Regions from separate parts of the Homo sapiens genome. Here all the other regions are linked to region 3. Evidence: promoter capture Hi-C in 16 types of primary human blood cells and fetal thymus (Javierre and others, 2016). All regions are on one chromosome and are shown on one strand. Each heading gives the region's core, a stretch centred on a gene start or on the middle of the fragment in contact. The rest is flanking DNA. Distances are from core to core; before and after follow the strand shown.

Evidence for each region. The method cuts DNA at HindIII sites, captures the fragments that hold promoters and counts their contacts. A CHiCAGO score of 5 or more calls a contact.
Region 1: a contact is called between a fragment that was not itself captured here and the fragment with the promoter of OTUD6A in region 3, in 1 of 17 cell types (M0 macrophages). The highest score is 6.2, in M0 macrophages.
Region 2: a contact is called between a fragment that was not itself captured here and the fragment with the promoter of OTUD6A in region 3, in 1 of 17 cell types (non-activated CD4 T cells). The highest score is 5.3, in non-activated CD4 T cells.
Region 4: a fragment that was not itself captured here is called in contact with the fragment with the promoter of OTUD6A in region 3 in 2 of 17 cell types (M0 macrophages and M1 macrophages); the score reaches 6.1 in M0 macrophages.

The regions. Positions count from the first base shown.
Region 1 is chrX:69,521,952-69,525,501 of GRCh38, forward strand. The region is part of intron 1 of NALF2 (NALCN channel auxiliary factor 2); the gene reads left to right. Among named protein-coding and RNA genes, the nearest start is that of NALF2, 19 kb to the left of the region's middle. The HindIII fragment of the contact is 6,171 bases long and covers 1-3,550 here.
Region 2 is chrX:69,472,531-69,476,151 of GRCh38, forward strand. No RefSeq gene overlaps it. Among named protein-coding and RNA genes, the nearest start is that of NALF2, 30 kb to the right of the region's middle. The HindIII fragment of the contact is 1,751 bases long and covers 647-2,397 here.
Region 3 is chrX:70,060,632-70,063,830 of GRCh38, forward strand. It overlaps OTUD6A (OTU deubiquitinase 6A), which reads left to right and starts at 1,826. Exons shown (of 1, transcript NM_207320.3): 1 at 1,826-3,199. The coding sequence starts at 1,894. The coding sequence ends at 2,760. The HindIII fragment of the contact is 21,287 bases long and covers 1-3,199 here.
Region 4 is chrX:69,539,215-69,542,443 of GRCh38, forward strand. No RefSeq gene overlaps it. Among named protein-coding and RNA genes, the nearest start is that of NALF2, 37 kb to the left of the region's middle. The HindIII fragment of the contact is 6,274 bases long and covers 1-3,229 here.

The DNA of each region.
Region 1 (3,550 bases), core at 626-3,125, 540 kb before region 3:
ACAGACTCAGAGAAGTCTAAAAATACCTGCAGGGTTGGCACAGGGGACAGGAAGGTAGCTGTTCCATATGGCACCAGTAGAGCTAGTAAGAGCTGCGAGTGAAGCCACAAGGAGGAATTAGTTCAAAATAAGGAAGAACTTCTGTAACTGCTAGAGTTATCTGAAGATATGGGCTGCCCTAGGACAGCATGACCCCCTGTGACAAGGCTTACAATCAGAAACTGGATAAGCACTTGGCAGTGATGTTGGAGTGGAAATTCCAACAGCAGATAGGGCAGTGTTGTGATGGTTCTCATGGTCCCTTCTATTCTGGAACAGTCATGACCCTGACTCCTCTGCTCACCTGATTGACAGGGATTATCTAGGCCCCTTCAGAGCTGCTCCTACATTAGGAACACTGTTTCTCCACTGGACCAACCCTGTCCAGGCTGGGCCCATCCAGCCACTGGCCTTTGAGCAGATGGCCCAAGAGGCTTGGTGGTGGGAGAGCTTTCTGGAACTGCACTGGCTCTAGGTTCTCACCCTCCTCTCTGGCCATCTCCCCTGCCTTTCCTTCAGGCCATGCCACTTTGACTCATGACTGCTCAGTTTGAGAAGCAGGACAGCTGTTGCTTATTTTTACAGCCACTTAAGTAGAACCCTATTATCCACCTGGATTTGCCCTTTAATGCATCTAATCCCAGTCTGATTCTACCAATCCCAGTGAACTACTGTCCCCAGAGTTATGTCCATGATCTCCTTCCTCTGGTTGAGGAGACTGATTTTGACCTAACCCTGTTCTGATCCAACTTTTGAAAGCCCAGAGTCGGGACTAGGAGCACTTGGCTCTTTTCAGACCCTGCCCGAGGGGGTTCCTCACACACTTCTCTGTGTGCTGATGGATGCAGTACAAAGAGGCATCAGGTTAGCAGTCAGGTTGCCTCCCTTCTAATCATGGCTTATAGTTGATTTCTTGCATGCCTCTGACTTGGCTAAGCCAACCCTCTTCTTTGGGTCTCAGTTTCCCTATGGGTAAAATCTGGGAGCGGAGTGTACCGTGGTGTCTGTGGACAGTGGATTTCATCCCCATGTGTAGCTCACATTGCTGCTTTGCCTCCACAGGCTCTGCGGCTGCAGCTCCAGCTGCTGGCCAAGGGCCCCAAGGGTACATTAGGAAGACAAGCAGCCCTGGAGAGAAGGCCTATAGGGAGGATTTGGATGGGGAAACAGGCCCCAGGGATGGAAGCAAGTTAGAATCCATGAAGGAAACTGCTTACTTCCTGGTTGGCAAGAACTAAAGCTCTCCTCCCTGGAGGGCTTTTCAGCCCCAGAACCAAGGAGCTCGGTATGGCCTCCGCTTTCTAAACTTTCTGGCCCTGAGTCCTGGCTTTGGGATGTAAAAGTCTTCTTTCTAGAGGAGAGTGGGGATGATGATGCCCTGGCCAGGGCTGCAAGCGCCAGAGCCAGAGGGTAAGGCTCTCTGGGTCCTCCCTAGATTGGCAACTGCAGAGCCCAGGAGGGGTGGTGACACCTCTCATCTTGCCCCTCCCATTTCTGGAGTGCTCTGCAGCCCAGCTGGGAGGAGGGATGGGACAGCCTTCGCAGCTTCCTTTTTGGGTTAATTGGTGTTCCCTCTAGTTATTTCCTGCTCCCTTCCCCTCCCAGTTCCCATAGCAACTGGGCTGTAGCAGCCAGAACTTGATTGAGCCCAGCAGTGGCCCGACTGAGGTGGGGAAAGGAGGGCACTGCCAGGTCAATGCTTCCCACCCCACCCATCCCCCGCTGCCATCTCAAGGGTTCAGGATGGTTAAGCCCAGAGGACAGGGCATAATTGGAAAGCCTTTTATGCCAGGGCTAGAGTTTGAAGAGTCTAACATGCCAGAGCAGGCCTGGTTCTCCTCAGCTCTCCTCCCCTCCCCATGCCCTGTGTCCTGCCTCTTAAATTTTGAATTCACTGTTGCTGGTAGGATTGTTCAGTAGGAAGAACCCTGGAGTTGGAGGTGGGAAACCAGGTTTCCAGTTCCTCCCAAACCGATGGTTCTCAACCGTGGCTGCATACTAAAATTGCCTGAGGTATTTTGAAAAACTACAGATGTGTAGGCTCCACCCACAAGGATTCTGACTTAGTTGGTCTGGATGTGATGTGAGCCAGACAGGAGTATTTTTTTTCTTTTTTTTTTTTTTTTAGACAGGGTCTCACTGTGTTGCCCAGGTTGGAGTGCAATGGTGTGATCTCAGCTCACTGCAACCTCCTCCCCCTGGGCAAAGGTGACCCTCCCACCTCAGCATCCTAAATAAGTGGGATCCAAGGTGTGCACCACCACACCCAGCTATGTTTTTATGTAGAGACAGGGTTTCACCATGTTGTCCAGGCTGGTCTAGGACTCCTGGACTCAAGCAATCCACCAGCTTCAGCCTCCCAAAGTGCTGGGATTACCATCATGAGCCACCGCATCCAGCCCAAGACAGGAGTATTTTTTGGAAGCTCTTTGAGTGATTGTGATATGCAGCCAGAGTTGAGATCCTGGAGAACAAAAGAGCTCCGTAGTTCACCCAGAACTGACTGTTATCTTGTTCTGAGACATTTCTTCCCTTTCCCTGCATCCCTTGCCTCCAGCAAGCCCCACAACTCTCCTAAGCCGGGCCCTCCTGGCTTTCCTCCATCCTTGTAGACAAGTGCCCAGGAACCTGTGAATGCCCAAACAACCTCCCCCGTCAACCCCTGGCTCAGTCCTAACACTAGTGAAACAGGGCAAGCTACCTAGGTCCATCTAAGAAACAGGGCTGCAGAGTCTAAGGCAGGCTTGTTGCCCAAGCTGTAACAAACACTGAGAGCCAGATCTTTCACCTGAGAAGGACCCCAGGCTACCTCTGAGGCATGAGGGATAGCAATGGCCTCCGCTGGCCGGCTGTGGGGCTGAGGAATTGGATTACCTCTGAGCCCCACATCACTCTTCTTCCTCCATTCCCCTCATTAGCTCCTTGCCTGTTCCTGCCTCGCCACCCACAGGCCTGGTGTCCTCCCCAAGCAATCTGCTCACCCACTTGTTGTCATGGTGACTCTGGCTGGGGGTGTGGGGACTGAGTGGGGAGGTCGTCTAATTAAGGAGAAAGGCCACACTCCCAATGTCAGGCCACCCCTCCCCCTTCCCCAACCTACCCTGGCTGGCTCCCTCCATTCCTCCCTCCAGGAGCAGATGACGGGAGCGCCCAGCCACCATAGCCTGTTACTGGGCTAATTGCAGTTGCCTGGGAGGAGGGCAGGAACTCCACTGGGGCCTCCTCACCTAGGAGCTGGAACACTGAACTAGAAGAGCCCAGAGAGAATTCCACAGGGACCTCTGAGTCACACTGATGGATGCAGGGTTGGGAGGGGGCCGATTGCACACATTTTGGGGTGAGGGTGAGGCAGGCTCTGGGTCCAGGCTACAGACATTGAGGCAGAGCCTATGGACAGAGACTCATCTTGGCACTCTGGGGCTCAAAAGATGGAGGGAAGTCTCTAAGGTACTGGGACCCTTAGTTCTTGTAATTTCATGTTCTTTCCTGCCTTACTTCTGTTTCTTTCTCC
Region 2 (3,621 bases), core at 272-2,771, 590 kb before region 3:
TACCATGTCCTTTCAATGCTGTTTGTGTTCTGAATCTTGCCACCTTGTAGCATGTGTTCCTTTATCAATACTATGTTTTAGCCACACTGGCCTCCTTTGTATTCACTAAGCCCTTCAAGCCCTTTACCACCTGTTATTGTTTCTTCTGCTTGGCATCCTCTTCCTCAATTATAATTACATCACTAGCTTGTCACCTTTCAGGTCTCAGCTTAAATGCAACTCCCTCAGAGAAGTCTTCCCTGTCTACCAAAAACGGACTCCCATAATTACTCTTTCTTTCTCAGGGTATCCCTAAGTACCCTGTTTCTTTCCTTCCCAGCCATCATCTCATTTATTTATTTATTTGCATACATACACCATCTGTCTGCAATGCCTGTCTCACTCAGTTGACTGTAGTCTCCATGGTAGAAAGATCATGAATCTTTTGCTTCCCATTGTATCTGTGGTGCCTGCCACCTAGCATTCAATAAATATTTGTTGAATGACTTAATTATGCATAAACATACCTAGAAGAGTGTCTGGCATATAACATGTGTGCAATAAATATTAGTTTCATCTGCCAACCCCTATCTTACTTTCCTCAACATCATAAAGGAAATATTGAAAAACCCATAGCTAACATCATACTCAATGGTAAAAGTTTGGAAGCTTTTCCTTTAAGATCAGGAATAAGGAAGAAATGCCCACTTTTACCACTTCTATTTAACATAATATTGGAAGTTCTGGCCAGAGCAATTAGGCAAAAATAAATAAATAAATAAATAAATAAAAGGCATCCTCATTGGAAAGGAAGGATTAAAATTATCTCTTTCACAGACAACATGATCCTGTATGTAGAAAACACTAAAGATTCCAGAAAAGAAAACTGTTAGAACTAATAAATAAATTCAGCCAAGTTGCAGAACACAAAATCAACACACAAAATATTAGTTGCATTTTGTCAACTAGGAAGGAACAATCCAAAAAGGATATTAAGAAGTAATTCCAACTGGACGCAGTGGCTCATGCCTATAATCCCAGCACTTTGGGAGGCCCGAGGCAGGTGGATCACCTGAGGTCAGGAGTTCAAGACCAGTCTGACCAACATGGAGAAACCCTGTCTCTACTAAAAATACAAAAATTAGCCAGGCGTGGTGGCGCATGCCTGTAATCCCAGCTACTCGGGAGGCTGAGGCACGAGAATTGCTTGAACCTGGGAGGCAGAAGTTGCAGTGAGCCAAGATCGCACCATTGCACTCCAGCCTGGGCAACAAGAGTGAAACTCTGTCTCAAAAAAAAAAAGTAATTCCATTTACAATAGCGTTGAAAAGAATAAAATACTTAAGAATAAATTTAACCAAGAAGTCAAAAGCCTTGTAAATGAAAACTACAAACACTGCTGAAAGAAAACATAAATAAATAGCAAGACATCTGGTTATCATGGATTGGAAGATTTAAGATTAAGATGACAATAATACTCAAAGCTATCTACAGATTCAATGCAATCCTCATCAAAAATCCTAATTGAGGTTTTTTTTCACATAAATAGAAAAACCCATCCTAAACTTCATATGGAATCTCAAGGGACCCCAAATAGTCAAAACACCCTTGAAAAAGAAGGAAAAAAGTCAGAGGACTCACACTTTTTTTTTTTGAGACAGGGCCTTGCACTGTCACCCAGGCTGAAATGCAGTGGTGCAATCATGGCTGACTAAAGCCTCAACCTCCTGTGCTCGAGATCCTCCCACCTAAGCCTCCCTGAGTAGCTAGGACTACAGGTATGTGTCACCATGCTCAGCTAATTTTTAAATTTTTTATAGAGACAGTGGTCTCACTATGTTTCCCAGGCTGGCCTAGAACACCTGGCCTCAAGTAATCCTCCTGCCTCAGCCTCCCAAAGTGCTGGGATTACTTGTGTGAACCACTGCCCAGCTGTCTCACACCTCTGGATCTCAAAACTTACTACAAATCTACAATAATGAAAACAGTATGGTACTGACATAAGGACAGACATATAGATGAATGGAATAGAATAGAGAGCCCAGATATAAACATTCACCTATATAGTCAACATTTTATTTTTGACAAAGGTACAAAGACCATTCAATGGGGGAAAGAAATACCTTTTCAACAAATGGTGGTAGGAAGACTGAATATCTACATTTAAAAGAATGAAGTTGGATCCTTACTCAGCACCGTATACAAAAATTAATTCAAAATGGATCAAATACCTGTACATAAGATCTAAAACTATAAAATTCTTAGAACACATGGGACATTGGATGTGGCATTTGATATGACAACAAAAACACAGGCAACAAAAGAAAAAAATAGATAAATGAGGCTTCAACAAATCAAAAACTTTTGTGCATCAAAGGACACTAACAAAAGAAAAGACAACCCACAGAATGAAAGAAAAGCTTTACAAATCATGTATCTGATAAGGAATTAATATTCAGAATATATAAAGAACTTCTACCATTCAATAACAGAAGAAACAAACAACCCAATTTGAAAATGGGCAAATAACTTGAGTAAAACATTTCTCCAAAGAAGATGTACAGATGGCCAACAATCATATGAAAAGATGCTCAACTTCACTAATTAGAGAAATGCATATTAAAACCACAATGAGAGACCATTTTACACCCATTAGGGATGACATTATTTTTAAAAATGTGAAATAACAAATGTTAGCAAGCATGTGGATAATTGGAACCCTCTTGCATTACTATTGGGAATGTAAAATGGTGCAGCTACTGTGAAAAAACAATTTGATCGTTCTTAAATGTAGAGTTACCATGTGAACTGGCAATTTCACTCCTGAGTATACTGAAAAGCACTGAAAGCAGGGACTCAAACAGATACTTGTACACCAAGGTTCATAGCAGCTTTATTCACAATAGCCAAAATGTGCAAACAACTCAAGTGTCCATCAACACATGAATGAATGAACAAAATGTGGTAAATACATAAAATTGAATATTGTTCAGCCTTAAAAAGAAATTAAATTCTGATGCATGTTATAACATGGATGAACCTTGAAAACATTATGCTAAGTGAAGTAAGCCAGACACAAAAGGACAAACATAGCATAATTTTATTTCTATGAGATACTCAGAATAGGCACATTTGCAGAGATAGAAAATAGAATAGAGGCTACTAGGAGCCAGGGGAAGGGAAAAATTAGGACTTATTATTTAATAGGTGCAGCGTTTCTGTTTGTAGTGATGAAAACATTCTGGAAATTGATAGTGGTGATGGTTGCTTGACATTGTGAATGTATTTAATGCCACCGAATTGTACATTTTTAAATGGTAAGTTTTATGTTATGTATATTACTACATTTAAAATGCAAAAAAAGTAAAGCCAAGATAGCTAACTTGAAAAAATAAAGGGATGGAGAAAGATATACCATGATAACACTAACTAAAGAACGCTGGAATGTCTATATTAATTTCAGAAAAGGAAGTTCAGAGCAAGGAAATATCCAGGATAAAGAGGAGCACTGCATTGATGATAAAGGGGTCAGTTCTCCAAGAACACATAGCAATCTTTAATGCTATGTGTCTAATAACAGACTGTCAAAATACATGATGCAAAAACTGATCAAACTGCATGAGAAATAGACAAATCCACAAT
Region 3 (3,199 bases), core at 576-3,075:
TGGCCAACATGGTGAAACCCTGTCTCTACTAAAAATACAAAAAGTATCCGGGTGTGGTGGTGTGCGCCTGTAGTCCCAGCTACTCAGGAGGCTGAGACATGAGACTTGCTTGAACCCAGAAGCTGGAGGCTGCAGTGAGCCGAGATCATGCCACTGCACTCCAGCCTGGGTGACAGAGCAAGACTCCGTCTCAAAAAAAAAAAGAAAAAAAAAGGAAGGAAGGAAACCAAGGAAGGAAGAAGAAAGAGAGTAAGAGAGAGAGAGAGAGGAAGAAAGAGAGTGAGAGAGAGAGAAAGAAAATAGGCAAATGAAGGGCTGAGCATGGTGTCTCACATCTGTAATCCCAGCACTTTGGAAGGCAGAGGTGGAGGACCACTTGAGCCCAGACTGGAGTGCAGTGCCGCTATCTTGGCTCACTACAACTTCTGCTTCCCAGGCTCAAGCTATCCTCCCACCTCAGCCCCCAGGAGTAGTTGGGACTACAGGCACACACCACCACACCTGGCTAATTTTTGTATTTCTAGTAGAGTTAGGGCTTCACCATGTTGCCCAGGCTGGTCTGGAACTCCTGACCTCAAGACATCCTCCCACCTTGGCCTCCCAAAGTGCTGGGATTACAGGCGTGAGCCACCGCATCTGGCAAAAAAAAAAAAAAAAAAAAAATTCCCCAAAATTAGCCAAGTATGGTGGTGCCTGTAGTCCCAGCTACTCAGGATGTTGAGGCAGGAGGATCACCTGAGCCTGAGCCCAGGAGTTTGAGGCTGCAATGAGCCATGATCACGCCACTGCATTCCACCCTCGGTGACAGAGCTAGACTCCACCCCCCCCAAAAAAAAGAGAGAGAAAATAGGCAAATGACATAAACATTTTACTGAAAAGGATATGGCATAGATGACAAATGAGCACATGAAAAAAGGAACATCATTAGCCATCAGGGAACTTCACACTTATCAAAATGGCTAAAATAAAAACTTGTGACTGGGCACAGTGGCTCATGCCAGCACTTTGGGAGGCCGAGGCGAGTAAATCACCTGAGGTCAGGAGTTCCAAGACCAGCCTGGCCAACACGGCGAAACCTCGTCTCTACTAAAAATACAAAAATTAGCCGGGCGTGGTGGCAGGCGCCTGTAGTCCCGGCTACCCGGGAGGCTGAGGCAGGAGAATCGCTTGGACCTGGGAGGCAGAGGTTGCAGTGAGCTGAGATTGCACCATTGCACTCCAGCCTGGGCGACAGAGCGAGACTCCGTTCCCCGCGCCCCCCCCTCAAAAAAAGAGTAAACTGAAAGGACTGTGTTTGCAGGAATGTAAGGAAATGTCCTTGTTCTGATGCACAAGTTAATGGTTCCCTGGTGAAGGGACCTGAAAGACTGGAGAAAAACGCACTGCTTCCTCAACAGTAGGGGCAATGCCAAGTCCAGGGTTAGAGCACATTCAGCGGTGTAGTATCTGTCATGTGGCTGTCAGGCATGGCTACTGCCTGCATTGTGTGCAGACTTGGAAATGAAGTCGGCTCTCAATCAGCGAAAGACTCTACAGGCCCAACTGCCACACACATTGCAGGAAGGCCATATTTGAATCCCGCCAAAAACCTTTGCTGTGGGGTCCAATGGGCTCATACTTCCGGTCTCCCAACAGCCAATCCTAGCACTGGGCATTTGCGGGTGGCCCAGCAAGTGGCCTAGCACTTGCGGGGGCGTGGCCATGGAGACACAGTGACCAAAGGCAGAGAAGAATGCGAATGGGGGAGGGGAAGCGGAGGCTGAGGTGAGCCTAGAGCGGCGGTTAGAGCCGGTGAGGTGAAAGAGAGCGACCGTTAGGACAGGCTGAGGACTTCTGGTCTGTTCGGTACTTGAACTGCCAGCAAATTTCAACTCCCGCTTGCCATTCAACATCATGGATGATCCGAAGAGTGAACAGCAGCGCATACTGCGCCGCCACCAACGCGAGAGGCAGGAGCTGCAGGCCCAGATCCGGAGCTTAAAAAACTCGGTCCCCAAGACCGACAAGACGAAAAGAAAGCAGTTGCTCCAAGACGTGGCCCGCATGGAGGCCGAGATGGCTCAGAAGCACCGGCAGGAGCTGGAGAAGTTCCAAGACGACAGTAGCATTGAATCTGTCGTCGAAGACCTGGCCAAGATGAATCTGGAAAACCGGCCTCCCCGCTCCTCCAAAGCCCACAGAAAGAGAGAAAGAATGGAGTCCGAGGAGAGGGAGCGCCAGGAGAGCATCTTCCAGGCTGAGATGTCGGAGCACCTGGCCGGCTTCAAGCGCGAGGAGGAGGAGAAGCTCGCCGCCATCCTGGGAGCCAGGGGTCTGGAGATGAAAGCGATCCCGGCCGACGGCCACTGCATGTACCGCGCCATCCAAGACCAGCTGGTGTTCAGCGTGTCTGTGGAGATGCTGCGCTGCCGCACCGCCAGCTACATGAAGAAGCACGTCGACGAGTTCCTGCCCTTCTTCAGCAACCCCGAGACCAGCGACTCCTTCGGCTACGACGACTTCATGATCTACTGCGACAACATCGTGCGCACCACGGCATGGGGAGGCCAGCTGGAGCTGAGGGCCCTGTCGCACGTCCTGAAGACCCCCATCGAGGTGATCCAGGCCGACTCGCCCACCTTGATCATCGGGGAGGAGTACGTCAAGAAGCCGATCATCCTGGTCTACCTGCGCTATGCCTACAGCCTCGGCGAGCACTACAACTCCGTGACACCGCTCGAGGCCGGCGCCGCCGGGGGCGTGCTCCCGCGTCTCCTGTAGGCCCCAAGGCGCTGAGCAGCCCCGGGAAACTGTCGCCGTCGCCGCATCTCCTCAGTAGGCTCAGTTTATTTTCCCCTTTTGCTTTTCTCTGTTTTTCTTTTCCTTCCTTTTAATCAAAACTACCCGCCCCCGCCCCGCCCCCGCTTTCCTAACCTTGCTGCTTTCACAGGGTGGGAAACGAAATTCGAGGGAAATTCCCCGGAAATATGAGGGAAATCTCTGCATTGCACCACCAGAGGGGCATAAATTTGAAAGTTCTAACCTCTTCTTGCCCTTAAGGGTCTTTTACCTCCCTCACCAACTAAGATTTGGTCATGTTGCGTATAACTTCACCACAAAAATGGAAATATTGGCCGGGCGCGGTGGCTCACGCCTGTAATCCCAGCACTTTGGGAGGCCGAGGCGGGCGGATCACGAGGTCAGGAGTTCGAGACCAGCC
Region 4 (3,229 bases), core at 331-2,830, 520 kb before region 3:
TGGTGTTCAAGGCCTTCCACATTCTGACCATTTTGGCCAACTCACTTCAACTCACATCCAGACTCAAAGGCATACCCCTGGTGGGCTGCCCTGAGTAGAAGAGGAATTAGAACAGGAACCGAACAGAGTGGGAGGCTCTGTAAGACTCTATACAGGGCTCCATAGCATCTATTTGAACAGCCTTAACTCATGATCACATTGTCACAAGACTAGAGAGATGCAGAGAACACAATTCCTGCCTGCCCTGGAACACTAGAGCACATCCGTATTTATTCCTTTGGCCCCTCTCTTTTTCCCCTGTTCCCAGGATCTGTCCTCTCCTGCCATCTCCTTGTTCCCTCTTCTCCTCTGTCTTGTCCCCTCATGACCCTCCTGCTGGTACAGGAGGCAGGAGGCTTTATTCTCAACGAGCACACAGCATCCTGCCACAAAGTGCTTGATGACATGCATGACCAGGCTTCTCTGTAATATCGAGTTTCACTTTCAGCACTTGGGTTGGTTTTTTGTTTTTGTTTTTCTTGAGGAACCTGCTATTCACAGATACTAAGACTGTAGGTAGCCGTTCTTGAGGAAAGGTCAGAGACTCCTATATTGATCTTAGCCTTGTTGAACCCAGAACACAAACCTGAAAATTAACATGGAAAAGCATACAGGTGAAGAGGAAAATTGCAAAGGTAGATTTATTGGCAGACAAACACTGATGGTTAATTTCAAGATGCCCTGGGCCCTTGGACTCCTGGAATCAATGCCCAGGGTCAGATATGGCTCATTTGTGGCCTAGTGGACAAAAGAGCTTGGAATGAAAGACACAGCCCTGAGAAGGCTGGGATAAGAGGAAGAGACAGTTCCTCTTCCCTGGCTCCATCTTGGGGTAACTTCCTCTGGGAAATGACAGCTTCCTGTCCCCCAAATTAGCTCTGCTGCTTAGAATACCCTTTTCCACTTGTACTGCATGTATACATACACACAGTGTCTTGCTAATCCTCACAATAACCATGCACAGTAGAAATTAATTTAGGTTTACAGATTAAAAAAACTGAGGCTTGAGGAGGCCAAAAGATCCACTCACCCAAAATAAACAAGCAAAATGCAGAGCAGAAGGCCAGGAATAGAAGCCAAGAACTCCAACTCTAAGACCAGTGCCAGCAGCTTTCCATCCATGGTTTCATGATCTGTTGAAGATCCAAAGCTAGGTCAACTGGCCCCAGCCCTGTACCCTCACCCTGTTCTCAAGAGTGATTGAAAAAGCAGGCAATGTGACTGAAGCCAGGTGAAGGGCTTTCACCTGGCTCCTGGGCCATGCTGACACCTGGCCTGGCTCTGAATGATGGCAGGGGAACTCAGTCAATGTTGAGGTTTGCAGGACCATCAGAGCAACAGCCAGCCTCATGCCAAACCCTTTCTAATGTAGAAGTCTCCACCTGGAGCTTCCAGAGCTATTTTGTTTAACTTGGCAGTGTTGATCTATTCAGTATTTAAATTTGAGTTGGGTTTCCTCTATAAGAGGTTGTATAGTGTAGTCATTAACAACATAGCTTAGGTTTGCATCCTGCCTCTGTCACTTGTTCTCTGTGACTCTGGGAAGGTTACTTAAACTCTCTGTGCTTCATCTTGCTCATCTGTAAAATGGAGATTTAAAAAATAGTACTCTACCTCATAGGGTTACTATGAGTGTTGAGTTATATCTAAAGCTCTTAGAATAGTATCTGACACATAGTAAATGCTATGTGTTTGTTATTACTATTATTATTATATACAAATTGGGGAGAATTCACATAAAACTCAAATTTCTCACTTCCCCTTAAATATTCAGAAGATCTGACAGCCCTGGATCTCCACTGTTGCCTAGAATGGAATCCGCCCTCTTCAGGTGGGATGTGCTCTTTCCTGGTCAGCCTCAGTCCTGTAAATTCCCATTTGGTCCCTGACACTGAAGCCAGGTGTCACTTGCCATTTGTCATCTTACATGCAGCTAGCTACGTGGGTTTTCATTATCTTCCTGGCCTCTAAAACCAGTCTGTCATCTCTCACCACTGCTTAAATGGTACAAGGGGCAAGGAACATCATGAAGCAGAAATTGTCAGCCAATGGGGACATCTCAAGAGATCCCTACCAGGCCAGTCAGAAACCTTTGCCTGCCTTCTCTTTAATGTCCCAGAATGGCACTTAGTCACACCAACTTGAAGGTCAAGAGAAGCAGCAAAGATGGTAAAGGGAGGCAAAATGAGGCCATGGCATTCCAGAGCATCCTCTCCTGCAGCCCCAAAGTTGGGTTTAAAATTTGGCTCAAGGACTCAATAGTAATAACAATTCTAGTAAGATACACTCACATCTCTGCCAAGTGATGTATGTACAGCATCATGAATAATAGAAACTATTAGAAAGAACTGAAATGTCATCAATTTGACACATACCTACAGTGGAATACTATGTGATCATTAAAAAGAACATGAAGAGTGGTGTGTACGATATGCTTCCATTTCTGTAGGAAGGGGAAAAGGGAAATATAAACACGCACACATGTACTTGCTTATATTTGTATTTGTATAGAATATCTCTGGAAGGATGTCTGAATATAGTGTAGACGTAAAATATCTATGGAAGGATAAGTCAAGAAATTGGTGACCAGTGCTGCCTCTGGGGAAAAGAATTGTGTAGCTGGGAGAGAAAGAAGACATGCTTTTTTTTCAATATATACCTTTGTATTTCTTTTGAATTTTACACCATGAATCTAAGTGAAAAAAAAAATCTTGTTTTAATAAATCCTGCAGTAGATACAAAAGGAACAAAAAAACCAATTCCAGTATCCCTCCTAAGACAACCTGAAGTCACAGACAAGTTGAATCACAATCAAGGCTGCACAGGAAACAACCTGGAGTCTGCAGTACCCCAGCCTTTCATTTGCAGTCATTTACACAGTCGTCATTCTATGTCCAAGTGTACATAAATCGTGTTTACTCTGCTTCTTCTTGCCTGGGCCATCTCCTCTATTCTGCTCAGGCTGGCTACATTCAAGCTCTAAAAATTCCTCGTTTGGGCTGCCTTCTTGGCACCCAGAAGTTCAGCCTTCTGGGGATTGTGGCTAAAGTGAAAAGAAGTTTGGCAACAGCAGTGCACCCAAAGACCAGGTCTTAAACCCTCCTTCTCCGAAAGTGCTTCTCCCAGTTATCTGGAGAGGGATCTCTGAAGTGGGCAGAGCCCTTGCATCTGTGTATGGCACCCTGCCAAC